2 separate regions of the Homo sapiens genome follow, and region 2 is linked to region 1. The links are contacts of gene promoters, found by promoter capture Hi-C in blood cells and fetal thymus (Javierre and others, 2016). All regions are on one chromosome and are shown on one strand. The core of a region is centred on a gene start or on the middle of the fragment in contact, and the rest is flanking DNA. Distances in the headings are between cores, read along the strand shown. Region 1 holds the start of POU5F1B (POU class 5 homeobox 1B). Region 2 overlaps CASC11 (cancer susceptibility 11).

Region 1 (6,945 bases), core at 2,286-4,785:
GGGGAGACAATGAAATACATATGCATAGAAGTCCAGGCATTTCCCTTCACACATGGCAGGCATTCAGAAAATCTTATCGAAAAATAAAAAATTTCTAAGGTCCAGTGGAGATCCTGACCTTTTGATTATACTAGAGCTAAAAATGAAGCTGATAAGGTGCCCCAGGTCCAAAAAAGTTCAGTCCTCCTAGGCAACAAAGTGTCCTTCTTATTCTAATTGATGCCCTTTTTATTTTAAGTGTGACTGAAACATTTTTCTAGGGTAAATTGAGTTCACAGGTGTCGAGTCTATTCCCTGTGATTCCTCAGTGGTAGGATGGGAGGAGAAAAAAAAAATCACATTGAAACATACCTTTTGCATAGAGCAATGTAAAAAACACACATCCAAAGATGCAAATGCCAAGAACAGAAGAGCCTCAATTTCTGGGAATCCTTTGGCTGGATTCTGTTACTTTTTCTATTTTTCCATGTGCGACATACGGCACCCTCCTTTTTCTGAGTATTTCTGGAATAACTTGTCATTTGGGGAGTCTGGGATCCAGAATCACTTGGGTTAGAGCAGAACAGTCATGAGTCTAAACTCCAGCCCTCTCTTTTACTTTGGAGAGTTACTTGACAAATCTTTTGCACCTATGGAATAAACATCATAGTCACTTATCTCAGAGTTTGCTTAAAGATTAGAAAAATAATATAAATGAAGTCCTTAATAGATGTGCTTAAGAAAGAATGTTCACTAGTGGTATCAATTATTGTTGGAAAGGCACAATTATCACATTTTCGATCTAGGAAAAAGTCTAAGGCAATGTAATCCATTGCTTTCATTTCATGTCTAAAGAAACTGAGGCTTAGGAAGGGAGTTAGGACTAATCAAAGGTCACCCCATTAGTTTGTAGAACCCAGGTTTCTTGATCTCCACTGGGATTTCCTAGCCATAGAAACACCATTGTATATAAAAGTGTCACCAATGAGCAAATAGCAGAAAGCCAAGCCATGAATAAATTTATGACAGTCTTCTAACTTAGATGCCATCTGCAGAAAACTGGAAATTTGGGCAAGTCTCCTAACTACCACTGGTATGCCTAATCATTAATCCCTGTTGGGTTTCAGAATGCCCTGGAGATTTTGTTGTCATTTGATTCATCAATCGGAAAATGAGTCTCAGTTTTTGGCGATGCAGTTTCATAGCAAATTTGGAAAGATGTGATTATTACCCTCTATTTCATGTCCTTCCAAGGAGCTGGTCCAGGGTAAATAGGTGCACATCTTTGAATCAAGAGTCATGAATAGGTGCATTATTACTGAGTGGACTTAAGTTCCTAATGTTCACTATGAATAATGAGTCTAATGTGAAATCTTAATGCATTTAAGGTAGATATGATGTTCTTTTAAAAATGAATTTTCAGGGCCGGGCGTGGTGGTTCACGCCTACAATCCCAATACTTTGGGAGGCCAAGGCAGGCAGATCACCTGAGGTCAAGAGTTCGAGACCAGCCTGGCCAACATGGTGAAACCCCATCTCTACTAAAAATACAAAAATTAGCCGGGCGTGGTAGTGGGCGCCTGTAATCCCAGCTACTCAGGAGGTTGAGGCAGGAGAATTACTTGAACCTGGGAGGCAGAGGTTGCAGTGAGCCGAGATCACACCACTGCACTCCAGCCTGAGCTATAAAGGAAGGCACTACCTCAAAAAAAGAAAAAAAATTATCCGGGCCAGGTGCAATGGCTCATGCCTGTAATCCCAGTACTTTGGGAGGCCCAGGCAGGAGGATCCCTTGAGCTCAGGAGTTTGAGACCAGCCTAGACAATATGGCAAAACCCCATCTCCACCAAAAATACAAAAATTAGCCAGTCTCATAACCTGGTCTCAAAATAAATAAGTAAATAAATAAAATTTTAAAAAATTAAATTAAAAAATGAATTATCTGTATCATGGGGAATGGTTAATGCTCACATTTTTGTGGAATATGTGAGGGAATGGTGAGGGCCGAACTATGCCGTTAGCGGTCAAAAGAGGTTTTGTATCAGGACAAATAGGATGTCTTGAAGAAAAACTACAGCTACCATCAAGTAGCACTCTAGGAAAAGGTAAAAAGGAGGAAAAAAGCAAGTATTTATTGAATACCTACTACGTGCCACACATTTTACCACACTTAAAAAATTATTACTCAATTATGTTACTTTTCTTTTCTTTCTTTTTTTTTTTTTTTTACTGTGTCCCAGGCTTCTTTATTTAAGAAAAAAGTGATACATGATGTGGGATTAAAATCAAGAGCATCATTGAACTTCACCTTCCCTCCAACCAGTTGCCCCAAACTCCCCTGCCCCCACCCTTAGTGTTCCCAATTCCTTCCTTAGTGAATGAAGAACTTAATCCCAAAAGCCCTGCCACAAACTCCAGGTTCTCTTTCCCTAGCTCCTCCCCTCCCCTGTTCCCCATTCCTAGAAGGGCAGGCACCTCAGTTTGAATGCATGGGAGAGCCCAGAGTGATGACGGAGACTGGGGGAAAGACTTCCCCCTCAGGGAAAGGGACTGAGGAGTACAGTGCAGTGAAGTGAGGGCTCCCATAGCCTGGGGTACCAAAATGGGGCCCTGGGGCCGGAGGAAAGGACACTGGTCCCCCTGAGAAAGGAGACCCAGCAGCCTCAAAATCCTCTCGTTGTGCATAGTCGCTGCTTGATCGCTTGCCCTTCTGGCGCCGGTTACAGAACCACACTCGGACCACATCCTTCTCGAGCCCAAGCTGCTGGGCGATGTGGCTGATCTGCAGTGTGGGTTTCGGGCACTGCAGGAACAAATTCTCCAGGTTGCCTCTCACTCGGTTCTCGATACTGGTTCGCTTTCTCTTTCGGGCCTGCATGAGGGTTTCTGCTTTGCATATCTCCTGAAGATTTTCATTGTTGTCAGCTTCCTCCACCCACTTCTGCAGCAAGGGCCGCAGCTTACACATGTTCTTGAAGCTAAGCTGCAGAGCCTCAAAGCGGCAGATGGTCTTTTGGCTGAACACCTTCCCAAATAGAACCCCCAGGATGAGCCCCACATCGGCCTGTGTATATCCCAGGGTGATCCTCTTCTGCTTCAGGAGCTTGGCAAATTGCTCGAGTTCTTTCTGCAGAGCTTTGATGTCCTGGGACTTCTCCGGGTTTTGCTCTAGCTTCTCCTTCTCCAGCTTCACGGCACCAGGGGGGACGGTGCAGGGTTCCGGGGAGGCCCCATTGGAGTTGCTCTCCACCCCGACTCCTGCTTCGCTCTCAGGCTGAGAGGTCTCCAAGCCGCCTTGGGGCACTAGCCCCACTCCAACCTGAGGCCCACAGTACGCCATCCCCCCACATAACTCATACGGCGGGGGGCAAGGGGGAATCCCCCACACCTCAGAGCCTGGCCCAACCCCCGGCCCGATTCCTGGCCCTCCAGGAGGGCCTTGGAAGCTTAGCCAGGTCAGAGGATCAACCCAGCCCGGCTCCGCCCCCCATGGCCCATCACCCCCACCGCCTGGAGGGGGCGAGAAGGCGAAATCCGAAGCCAGGTGTCCCGCCATGGGGAAGGAAGGCGCCCCAAGCCGGGGGCCTGGTGAAATGAGCAATTATGTTACTTTTCATTGAAAGCTCTGTGACCGTATGGCTGTGTGTGTCATACGCTCACTAGCAATGAACACAGTGCCTGAAGCATCATTAAATGTTGACTGAATGTGTTAGGAACTCTTCAAAAGTAATCTCTTTAAATCATAATCACCTGTGAATTGACAATTATTATCTTCACTTTGTGGATAAGAATGCCAAGATTTGGAAATGTTGAATAATGTGTCCATTGTGTCAGTGGCCGATCTGAAATTCCAGTGTAGGCACCATGATTCCTGAGTCCATTCTGCTTCTGCCATACCATGATGCTAGATTCTTCATGGGAGCCATCTACTTGTGTTCTGTGCTATGGAATGGTGTGTCCTTCTTTCTGATTCTTATTTCCTGCAGATTGTGGGGAAACGGTTCTACCATTAACAACCAAAGGCAAAATGGGCTGCAACCAAAGAAATTCCCTGACCTAATTCTTTATAGTTGGTGACAAGTGTGCTGTAGTGACGGGAAATAGCACTCTATGAAGATTTAATAGTGCAAATTCTACCCTCCTGACAACCCCTTTCTTCAGCACTGGATGGGTGTATTAGTTGTTTATCATTGTGTAATAGATCACCTCAAAACTTAATAGCTTAAAAACAACTAACACATAGCTCACAGTTTTGTAAAATAGCAATTGTGGTGTGGCTTAACTGGGTATCCTGGATAAGGGTATTTCATGAGGTTGTGGTCAAGATGAGAGCAGGGGATGTTGTCATCTGGGAGCCTAACGGGGGCTGGAGGATCCACTTTCCAAAATGTCTCACTTACTTGGCTGTTGGCAAAGGCCCCGGTTTCTTGTTGGCTGTTGGTAGGAGGCCTCAGTTGCTCACCATGTGGGCTTTTCCATAAAGCTGCTTGAGTGTCCTCACAACATGTCAGCTGGATTCACCCAGAGAGAATGACCTAAGAAAGAGAGAGCAGGGAAGAAGCCACTGCGTTCTTTATGACCTAGTCTCTGAAATCGCACACTTTTACTTGTGCCATATTTTATTCATTAGAAGTGAGTCACATTCTGTAGGAGGGTAATTAGCCTTCACCATTTGGCAGGAGGACTATCAAATAATTGGTGGGCATATTGTAAAGCTATCATAATGGTTCTGGTAGGCCATGTTTTTGCCTCTGCCACTCAAATATTGGATGTCCATTTCTTAAAGGGATTGTGAAAAGAGAAGGGGCTTTAGAATAAGACAGGCAAATGTTTAAACATTGAGTAAATTTTTAATGTCCTTAACCCTTGTTTCTCAACCATAAAATGAGAATGATCATATCAAATCTTCACAGTTTTGCAGGATGGGTTGCAGGTAATAAAGTCCTAGTGCAATGTCTGGCACAAGGTAAGTGTTTAAGCAGTGGGCTCCTTTCTGTTACATAATGTGGCAACCCTCTTCTCCCCTCTCTACCTCTCAAATATGTGTCTGAGTCAGAACACCAAAGTCACACACACACAGGTACAAAACAATTCCTGATTCTATTCCATTTCCATCATGCCATGCTGCCAGTTTCTCCATGGGGCCATCTTTACTTCTGTAGTAAGGAATATAGTTACTTGTTACAGAAATTAGATTCCAGAATTGGGATATGAGTTGGAAAGGGAACTTAAACGTTCTCCTTCAGTCTTGCTCAAATTCTCATGCTTATTTGACGTTCTTGAGTGTTTCCAATAAGATAGATATGACTTTACCTCTAGATTCTCCCACTTGTTATCCTGCCAACCTTAAGTCCCCTTTCTCAGGGTAATAACTTTCTGCTCAATTCTGTTGTGAGGTTTAAGTCAAGTAAGATGTGTGTAATTTTCTCATGAAACAGTAGCTATTATTTATTGTTTATCATTTTATCATTAACTTCTGTTCCTTTAGACCTGACTAAAATATTTCTAGTGTCATTTGAAAATATTGTATTATATCGGGTGTTGTGTGTGTGTGTGTGTGTGTGTACCACCTTTTTTTAAGAAGCACAAAATGTGTTTGACCAGTTACTTAGATTATTTATTTCTCACAAAATGAAGTCAAGTCCATATTGTCTCATTTAGCAGAAAAGTGAAATAGAAGGTTAATAGGTTGGCCTAAGCCTCACAGCTGGTAAGTATAGCTACCTAGATTTGAACCATGAAAATCGTTTGAGGTGATGCTCTGCTTTATTTAATCTGTTCAGACAATGGCATTGTGGTTTCATGGGGAGACAGGCTAGATTTTGTGACCTGAACGTCTACTCGTTTGACTATGTAGTACAACTAAAAATTGTGAATCCGCTAACTAAGTCTTTGTGTTTAATTTAGTTTAGTGCAATAATAATTTCTAGGGATATCACAGGCCAGGCACTGGGATAGATAATGAGGTACAGCTAGGTGAAGGGGGCAGGATGGAAATGCTGAGGTACAGAAGGGTCATAAAGCCCATTGTAATGTTCCATTTTTGTCTCTAGATAATGACAAGCAGACAGTAACACACTGGTAGCAAACATTGAAGACTGGTGGCCCAGGGGCTCTGATGTTGATGAAATTCCTGATGAAATTGAGTTTGGTAATTATACAGTTGACCTGCTTGAAAGAAAGATATCACAGTAGAACAATTTCCTTGGTTCTGCCATTTCATTTATCACCATTGTTTGTCTTTGTTGTCAGTATTAACATCAATTATTAATCTTAATGCTCATTTTCCTTCCTAGCCTTCTTTCCTGTCTGACATGTGGAATCTCTTGCTATTAAATTGAGAGGCAGGTGGAAACATTAGTCCTTCTTACGTCATTGGTCATTATTTCTTCTGAACGAAGAGTTTTTTTCAGTGGGGGCAGGACAATTGGAAAAATCCATTCCAAGTGGCATAAAGACTGGTTTCTTTGCTCTGTACAAAGTATCCCAGTATCACTTAAGTAGCTATTTCTCTGAGGTTGGACCTCAACTAGAACCATGATGGTTGGATGCAGAGAAACTGGCAAATAGGTTAAATTGAAAGCAGGTAGAAATCACAACACTTGGGATGGCAAAAACAGCTAGCTGCCTCCCAAGATCTGCTCTCCCTTTCTGTCTTAGTAACCTAACCTCATTTTATATAAGATAGCAGGCCATCCAGCTAAAAGACTATATTTACTAGTCTTCCATGGCACTAAGTTGTGACCAATGAGAATCAGCAAAAATACAGCGTGAAACTTTTGGGGAGGCTGTTTAAAGGAAGCTGAGTTAACAGGAACTCTCCCTTCCTCTTCAGGCCATTGCCCTTTTCCTTCTAGCCTACAACATGGATGTAATGGTAGCACTCCAGAAGCCATCTTGAACTGTAAGTCAACATTAGGCAGAAGCTGCAAGCGAGATGGTGAGGCAGAATGAAGAAGCTTGGAC
Region 2 (6,945 bases), core at 2,607-5,106, 300 kb before region 1:
TTAATGGAATCATACAATGTGTGGTCATTTGTCCTGGCTGCTTTAATGTGGCATAATCACTTCAAAGTTCATCCGTGGTATAGTATTATCAGTACTTCACTTCCTTTTATTGATAAATAATATTTCATTGTATGGATATATCACATTTTATTTATCCACTCATCCATTGATGGGCATTTGGGTTGTTTCTACTTTTTGGGGATTGCGAATAATACTGCTATGACCATTTCTGTACAAATGTTTGTGTGAATATATGTGTTCTTTTATCTTGGGTCTATCTATCTATTGATGGATGGAAATGCTGGATCATATAGTTTTGCTTTTTTTTTTTTTTTGAGATGGGGTCTCCCTCTGTTGCCCAGGCTGGAGTGCAGTGGCACAATCTCCGCTCACTGCAACCTTTGCCTCCTGGGCTCAAGCAGTCCTCCCACCTCAGCCTCCCGTGTAGCTGGGACCACAGGTGCATGCCACCACGTCCAGCTGATTTTTGGTATTTTTGGTATTTTTGGTAGAGGCAGGGTTTCACCATGTTGCCCAGGCTGGTCTTGGAATCCTGAGCTCAAGCAATCCACCCACCTAGGCCTCCCAAACTGCTGGGATTACAGGCATGAACCACCACACCCAGCCTTCATATAGTAATTCTATTCTCACCATATGAGGAAATGTTGAACTGTTTTTCAAAGTGGTTGCACCATTTTATTTATTTATTTATTTTTATTTTTATTTTTTTTGAGATGGAATTTTCCTCTTGTTGCCCAGGCTGGAGTGCAATGGCACAATTTCGGCTCACTGCAACCTCTGCCTCCTGGGTTCAGGTGATTTTCCTGCCTCAGCCTCCCGAGTAGCTGGGATTACAGGTGCCTGCCACCACACCTAGCTAATTTTTTTTTTTTTTTTTGAGAAGGAGTCTTGTTCTGTTGCCCAGGCTAGAATGCAGTGGCATGATCTCGGCTCACTGCAACCTCTGCCTCCCAAGTTCAAGCGATTCTCCTGCCTCAGCCTCCTAAGTAGCTGGGATTACAAGTGCCCACTACCGCACCAGGCTAATTTTTGTATTTTTTAATAGAGACAGGGTTTCACCATCTTTGCCAGGCTGGTCTTGAACTCCTGATCTCATGATCCACCCACCTCGGCCTCCCAAAGTGCTGGGATTACAGGTGTGAGCCACCACGCCCAGCCACGCCTAGCTTATTTTTTGTATTTTTAGTAGAGACAGGGTTTCACCATGGCCAGGCTGGTCTTGAACTCCTGACCTCAGGTGATCCTTGGCCTCCCAAAGTGCTGGGATTAGAGGCGTGAGCCACCGTGCCCATCCAGCACCATTTTATATTCATGCCAGCAGTATATGAAGTTTCAATTTCTCCACATCCTTGTCAATACTTGTTGTTATCTTTCTTTCTCTATTTTTCATTATAGTCATGTCAGTGGGCGTGAAGTGGTATCTCACTGTGCTTTTTGACTTGCCTTTCTTTTTTGTTTTTTTGTTTCTTTTGAAGCAGAGTCTTTTCTGTTCACCCAGGTTGGAGTGCAGTGGCACAGTCACGGCTCACTGCAGCCTTGAACTTGAGAGCTCAATTGATACTCCTATTCCAGCCTCATGAGTAGCTGGGACAGCTGGGACTACAGCCATATGCCACCATGCATGGCTAATTATTGTATTTTTGCATAGAGAGTGTTTCACCATCTTGCCCAAGCTGGTTTGAACTCCTGGGCTCAAGCAATCTGCCCTGCCTCAGCCTCCCAAAGTGATGGGATTACAGGCATGAGCCACCATGTCCTGCCAACATGGAGCAACTTTCCATGTGCTTATTGGTCATTTGCCAGGCCTGTTGTAAGTGCTTAGGTCTAGCAATGCTTTACTCCATGACAGCCTTGGGGATAAGTACTATTGTTACTACCTTTTCCTATCACATGCCAGGCTCAGACTTTTAGTTGCAAGCTTTCTTGTCAACAAATAAAATGAATACTATTCAATGCAAGGACATTTTAGTTCCGACTCAACTGTCAATGTATAGTTAGCACTTAATAGTCAGTGCCTCAGTAATTCCTATTTATCCTGTTTTTCCTGACTCAGAAACTTTGTACATGCTATTTTTTTCCTTGATTAATTATTTCCTTGGTTAATTTAAAAATTTAATTTAAATTTTCCATTTAAATTTTTGTTCTGGCTGTTTCTGCTTTAATATTATTATTATTATTATTTGAGATGGAGTCTCAATTTGTCACCCAGGCTGGAGTGCAGTGACACAATTTTGGCTCACTGCAACCTCCACCTCCCAAGGTTCAAGCGATTCTCCTGCCTCAGCCTCCTGAGTAGCTGGGACTACAGGCATGCACCACCACACCCAGCTATTTTTGTATTTTTAGTAGAGATGGGGTTTCACCATGTTGGCCAGGCTGGTCTCAAACTCCTGGCCTCAGGTGATCTGCCCATCTGAGTGCTGGGATTACAGGCATGAACCACCACACCTGGCCTTTCCTGGCTATTTCCTTGTTTAATTTTTTCCTTGACTAATTTTTGTTTATCTTCTACATTTTCAGAGAGGCTTTCCTGACCTTCCTGTCTAAATTAGGACCCTTATTCTTTCTCACAGCCCTGTTGATTTACCATAATAACATTCATTTATTTTTGTGCCCTTATATTTTCTTATCTTTCTTTTAAATGAAAGTTTTTGTTTTATAAATTTGTAATCATGCTATAAATGTTCCTTTGAATCTGCCTTTTTTCCCATTTCACATTGTGTTACAAAAATTGTCAGCATCATTGAAAGCAAATGTTAAATGGCTGCAAAATAGTCTATTAGGTGATTATAAAATACCTCATTTAATCATTTCCTTTTTAAAATTTGAAGTGTGTCATTGATTTGCTATGGTAAATAACACTGATATGAACATCTTTGGGAATAAATCTGTTCTTAATTTTTAGGATACTTTTCTTAGTATAGAATCCAGAATTATTGAATCAGAGGCATTTGTAAAGTCCTTGATTCATATTACTAAAGCTTGAGGAAAAAAGGAGATGTTGTAATTTGCACTGCCTCAGGAATATATGAGAGTGCTACACTAATGAGACTCATGTCAGTACTGTTTATTATCATTTTAAAAACAGCTTTGCTGTAGTCTGCATTTCTTTGATTTACAGTGGAAGCACATCTAATAATTGCACAAATGACAGAAACACATCTTAACTGATACTCCAATTAAAAAAAATAGATAGTACATTATTAGTGCATTTTCCTAAAGGAGCCCAAGAAAGACTGAATAGGAGCATTTGTAGGTGAGGATAAGAGAATGAAGTGACCTGAACAGGCTCGAGAAAATTGCTGATGATGGGATTTGCAGATAAGGCAGAAGGACACATGGCTGGACTCTCAGTCTGCAGCTCATTTTTTATGCCTTATCAGAATAGAGGGCTGCTCCCCTGTAGATGATGGCTACACCTGGCAGTGTAATAAAAAGTGCTGTGGGTGGATGGGAAGCGCTGTGGAGATGGCTCCTGGTGCAGAAGACACAGAACTGAAGATGCTGACAGTTGCAATGAAAGGAGACTTGGAGAACACTGAGAGGTTAGGAGTTTTCAGACATTTTATTGGATTTATTTTATTTTATTTTTTTTCTTGAGACAAGACCTCCCTCACCTCTGTCACCTGGCTGAAGTGCAGTGGCATGATCGCGGCTCAACGCAGCCTCAACCTCCTGGGCTCAGGTGATCCTCCCACTTCAGCCTCCTGAGTAGCTGGAACTACAGGTGCACACCACCACACCTGGCTAATTTTTGCAGTTTTTTGTAGAGATGAGGTTTCACCATGTTGGCAAGGCTGGTCTTGAACTCCTGGACTCAAGCGATCCACCCATCTCGACCTCCCAAAGTGCTGGGATTATAGGCATGAGCCAACACTCCCAGCCTTTATTTGGTTTACTTTACAAGTGGACTATGTTTTTTTCTCTGTAAAATCTCAACATGAAACCTGGGGTGGGGATGGACAGGGGAAAACAGAAGGGTGATTTGGTCCACTCTCTCACTCATCAAGGGCCTTGAGATATTGGCCATTATCTCTGGGTGAGATTATTGTTATTATTATTTTAAGATGAAGTTTCACTCTTGTTGCCCAGGGTGGAGTGCAGTGGCACGATCTCGGCTCACTGCAACCTCTGCCTCTCCAGGCGAGATCATTAATGCAGTCCCAGAGACATACTGAAAGGATGGAGAGATTTTCAGCCTTTGACTCTCCAATAAGCACTTACATGTATTCATCATTTAGTCCCCACAGCAACCCAATCAGATCAGTGCCCATTTTATTTACATTTTACAAAAGAGGTAACTGCAGTGTGGGAATGTTAGCTTGCCTGGGATTCAAGAATAAATGGTACCAAGGTGGGCAGATCACTTGAGGCCAGGAGTTCAAGACCAGCCTGGGTAATGTGTCAAAAGCCAGTCTCTACTAAAAACACAAAAATTAGCTGGGTGTGGTGGTGCATGCCTTTAGTTCCAGGTACTCAGGAGGCTGAGGCACGAGAACTGCTTGAGCCCAGGAGGCGGAGGTTGCAATGAACCAAGATCATGCCACTGTACGCCAGCCTGGGCATCAGAGTGAGACTATCTCAAAAAGAAAAAAAAAAAAGTAAATGGTGGAACAGGGATTCAAATTCAGGCAGTGTGAAGAGGACAGGATGGAGATTTTGAAACTGGAGAGCATGAGCCAAGCTTAAGTGGGTTATCACTGGGAAAATGTGGTTCATTTTGGTTCATCTCTAAAGCTAAATTTTTATTGAAGTTGATATTAGCCAACCTTGGCTTCCTGAAAGATATCAATTAAATCAAGCAGTTGAAGTAAGCGGAAGAGATGGATGGCAGGGAAGGTCAGGAGACCCTCATTTATCCATTTGAGAGCAAGAGCCTGAAGAAATCAATAGGACATTCCTGTTAACTGTCCATTCACTTGTTCTTCCTCAGATTGGTAATTTCTGAACTAGGCAGTGTCGTGGTTAGAGAAGAGAGGACATCAAGTTCCAATGCTGTTGTCCCTACTCCATAAATCTGTACTACTCAAACTCTCTCAGCCTTCATCTTCTTATCTTTAAAATGGGGATAATAAATACCTCATGGAATTCTTGGGAGGAATAATTAAGATAATGCATATAATGCGCTTATAGTACTTGGCGCATATTATGTGTTCAATCAATGTAAACTTAATATTTAGTAATTTTTTTTCAACAAATGTTCACTTAGCTTTACTTGTGCGTTATTGGGTTGGTGGAAATGTCTTGGATGACCCACTAATGGATAAGATAAACTTCTGAGGGTAAAGGTTTTAGGTGCAAAACCCTCTTATCATGAAATGTGTTTAAAGGTAAGTTTGGAGGGATAGGACTGTATAACTTACCTATGATACAGATAGCTCAGGAGAAAGAGAATGGCCACAAAGTCCACTGAGAAAACAGAGTAAGCAAGGTCTTCTTGACATGGATTGTGAATTATGTGTCTTTCATTTTTATTTCTTTTGAGACAGGATCTCTCACTCTCACCCAGGTTGGAGTGCAGTGGTGTGATCACGACTCACTGCAGTCTTGAACTTGCCAGGCTCAAGCAATCCTCCTACCTCAGCCTTCTGAGTAGCTGAGACCACAGGGATGTGAAGAGACAGGGTCTCACTATATTGCCCCGGCTAATCTCGAACTCCTGGACTCAAGCAATCTGCCCGCCTCAGCCTGCCAAAATGCTGGGATTACAGGTATGAGCCAAGGCGGCCTATGTGCCATTTAGCTGTCTAAGATGAACAAAAGGAAACAACCAAAACACTAACACTTCTTTGTTACTTAAAGTCAAAATGAGGACCTCTGTCAGAAAGCTACATTTACCCTGTCTCTGAGAAAGCAGAGTTGAATGAACTGGAAAGAATTTGGGCCATAAAACAAGGTCCCTGAATTAGCAGATCACCTTCTGTGAATAAATCATCTAAATATTACATCAGAGCTCAAGCAAAATTTTGTGTCTCTGAAGTGACACTTTGAATCACTTTTCCTGTGATTAAAAAAAAATGGCCAGGCGCGGTAGCTCACGCTTTTAATCCCAGCACTTTGGGAGGCCGAGGCAGGCATATTCCGAGTCCAGGAGTTCGAGACCAGCTTGGCCAACATGGCAAAACCCTGTCTCTACAGAAAAATACAAAAATTAGCCAGGCATGATGGCACACGCCTGTAGTCCCAGCTAATCAGGAGGCTGAGGTTTGGGAGGATCGCCTGAGTCTGGGGAGGTCGAGGATGCAGTGAGCTGAGATTGTGCCACTGCACTCCAGTCTGGGGGGTCAGAATGAGACTCCATCTCACTATATTGGAAGGCAGTGGCTGATCACAGCTCACTGCAGCCTCGACCTCCCAGACTCAAGTGATCCTCCCATCTATCTCAGCCTCCCTAGTATCTGGGATTACAGACTTGTGCTACCACACCTGGCTATTTTTTTCTGTTAAGAGATGGGGTCTCACCATATGGCCCAGGCTGGCCTCAAACTCCTGGGCCCAAGGGATCCTCCTCCCTTGGCTTCTCAAAGTGCTGGAATTACAGGCGTGAGCCACCATGCCTGATCCTATTAAGTAATGCTTTTAAAAAATATTGGATTTGGCTGGGTGTGGTGGCTCATGCCTGTAGTCCCAGCACCTTGGGAGGCTAAGGTGGGTTAATTGCTTGAGGCCAGGAGTTCAAGACCAGCCTGGCCAACATAGAAAAGCCCCGTATCTACTAAAAATGCAAAAATTAGCCAGGTGTGGTGTTGCATGATCCTGATCCTATTAAGTAATATTTTTAAAAAATATTGGATTTGGCTGGGTGTGGTGGCTCACGCCTGTAATCCCAGCACCTTGGTAGGCTAAGGTGGGTTAATTGCTTGAGGCCAGGAGTTCAAGACCAGCCTGGCCAACATAGAAAACCCCCGTCTCTACTAAAAATGC

The links. Contacts are between HindIII fragments. The CHiCAGO score rates a contact against its expected background, and 5 or more counts as called.
Region 2: a contact is called between a fragment that was not itself captured here and the fragment with the promoter of POU5F1B in region 1, in 1 of 17 cell types (M2 macrophages). The highest score is 5.9, in M2 macrophages.

The regions. Positions count from the first base shown.
Region 1 is chr8:127,412,457-127,419,401 of GRCh38, reverse strand. POU5F1B (POU class 5 homeobox 1B) reads right to left here and starts at 3,535. Exons shown (of 1, transcript NM_001159542.3): 1 at 2,456-3,535. The coding sequence starts at 3,535. The coding sequence ends at 2,456. The region is part of intron 5 of CASC8 (cancer susceptibility 8); the gene reads left to right. The HindIII fragment of the contact is 3,513 bases long and covers 3,428-6,940 here.
Region 2 is chr8:127,714,734-127,721,678 of GRCh38, reverse strand. CASC11 (cancer susceptibility 11) reads left to right here. Exons shown (of 4, transcript NR_117102.1): 2 at 5,511-5,732. Among named protein-coding and RNA genes, the nearest start is that of CASC11, 16 kb to the left of the region's middle. The HindIII fragment of the contact is 1,703 bases long and covers 3,005-4,707 here.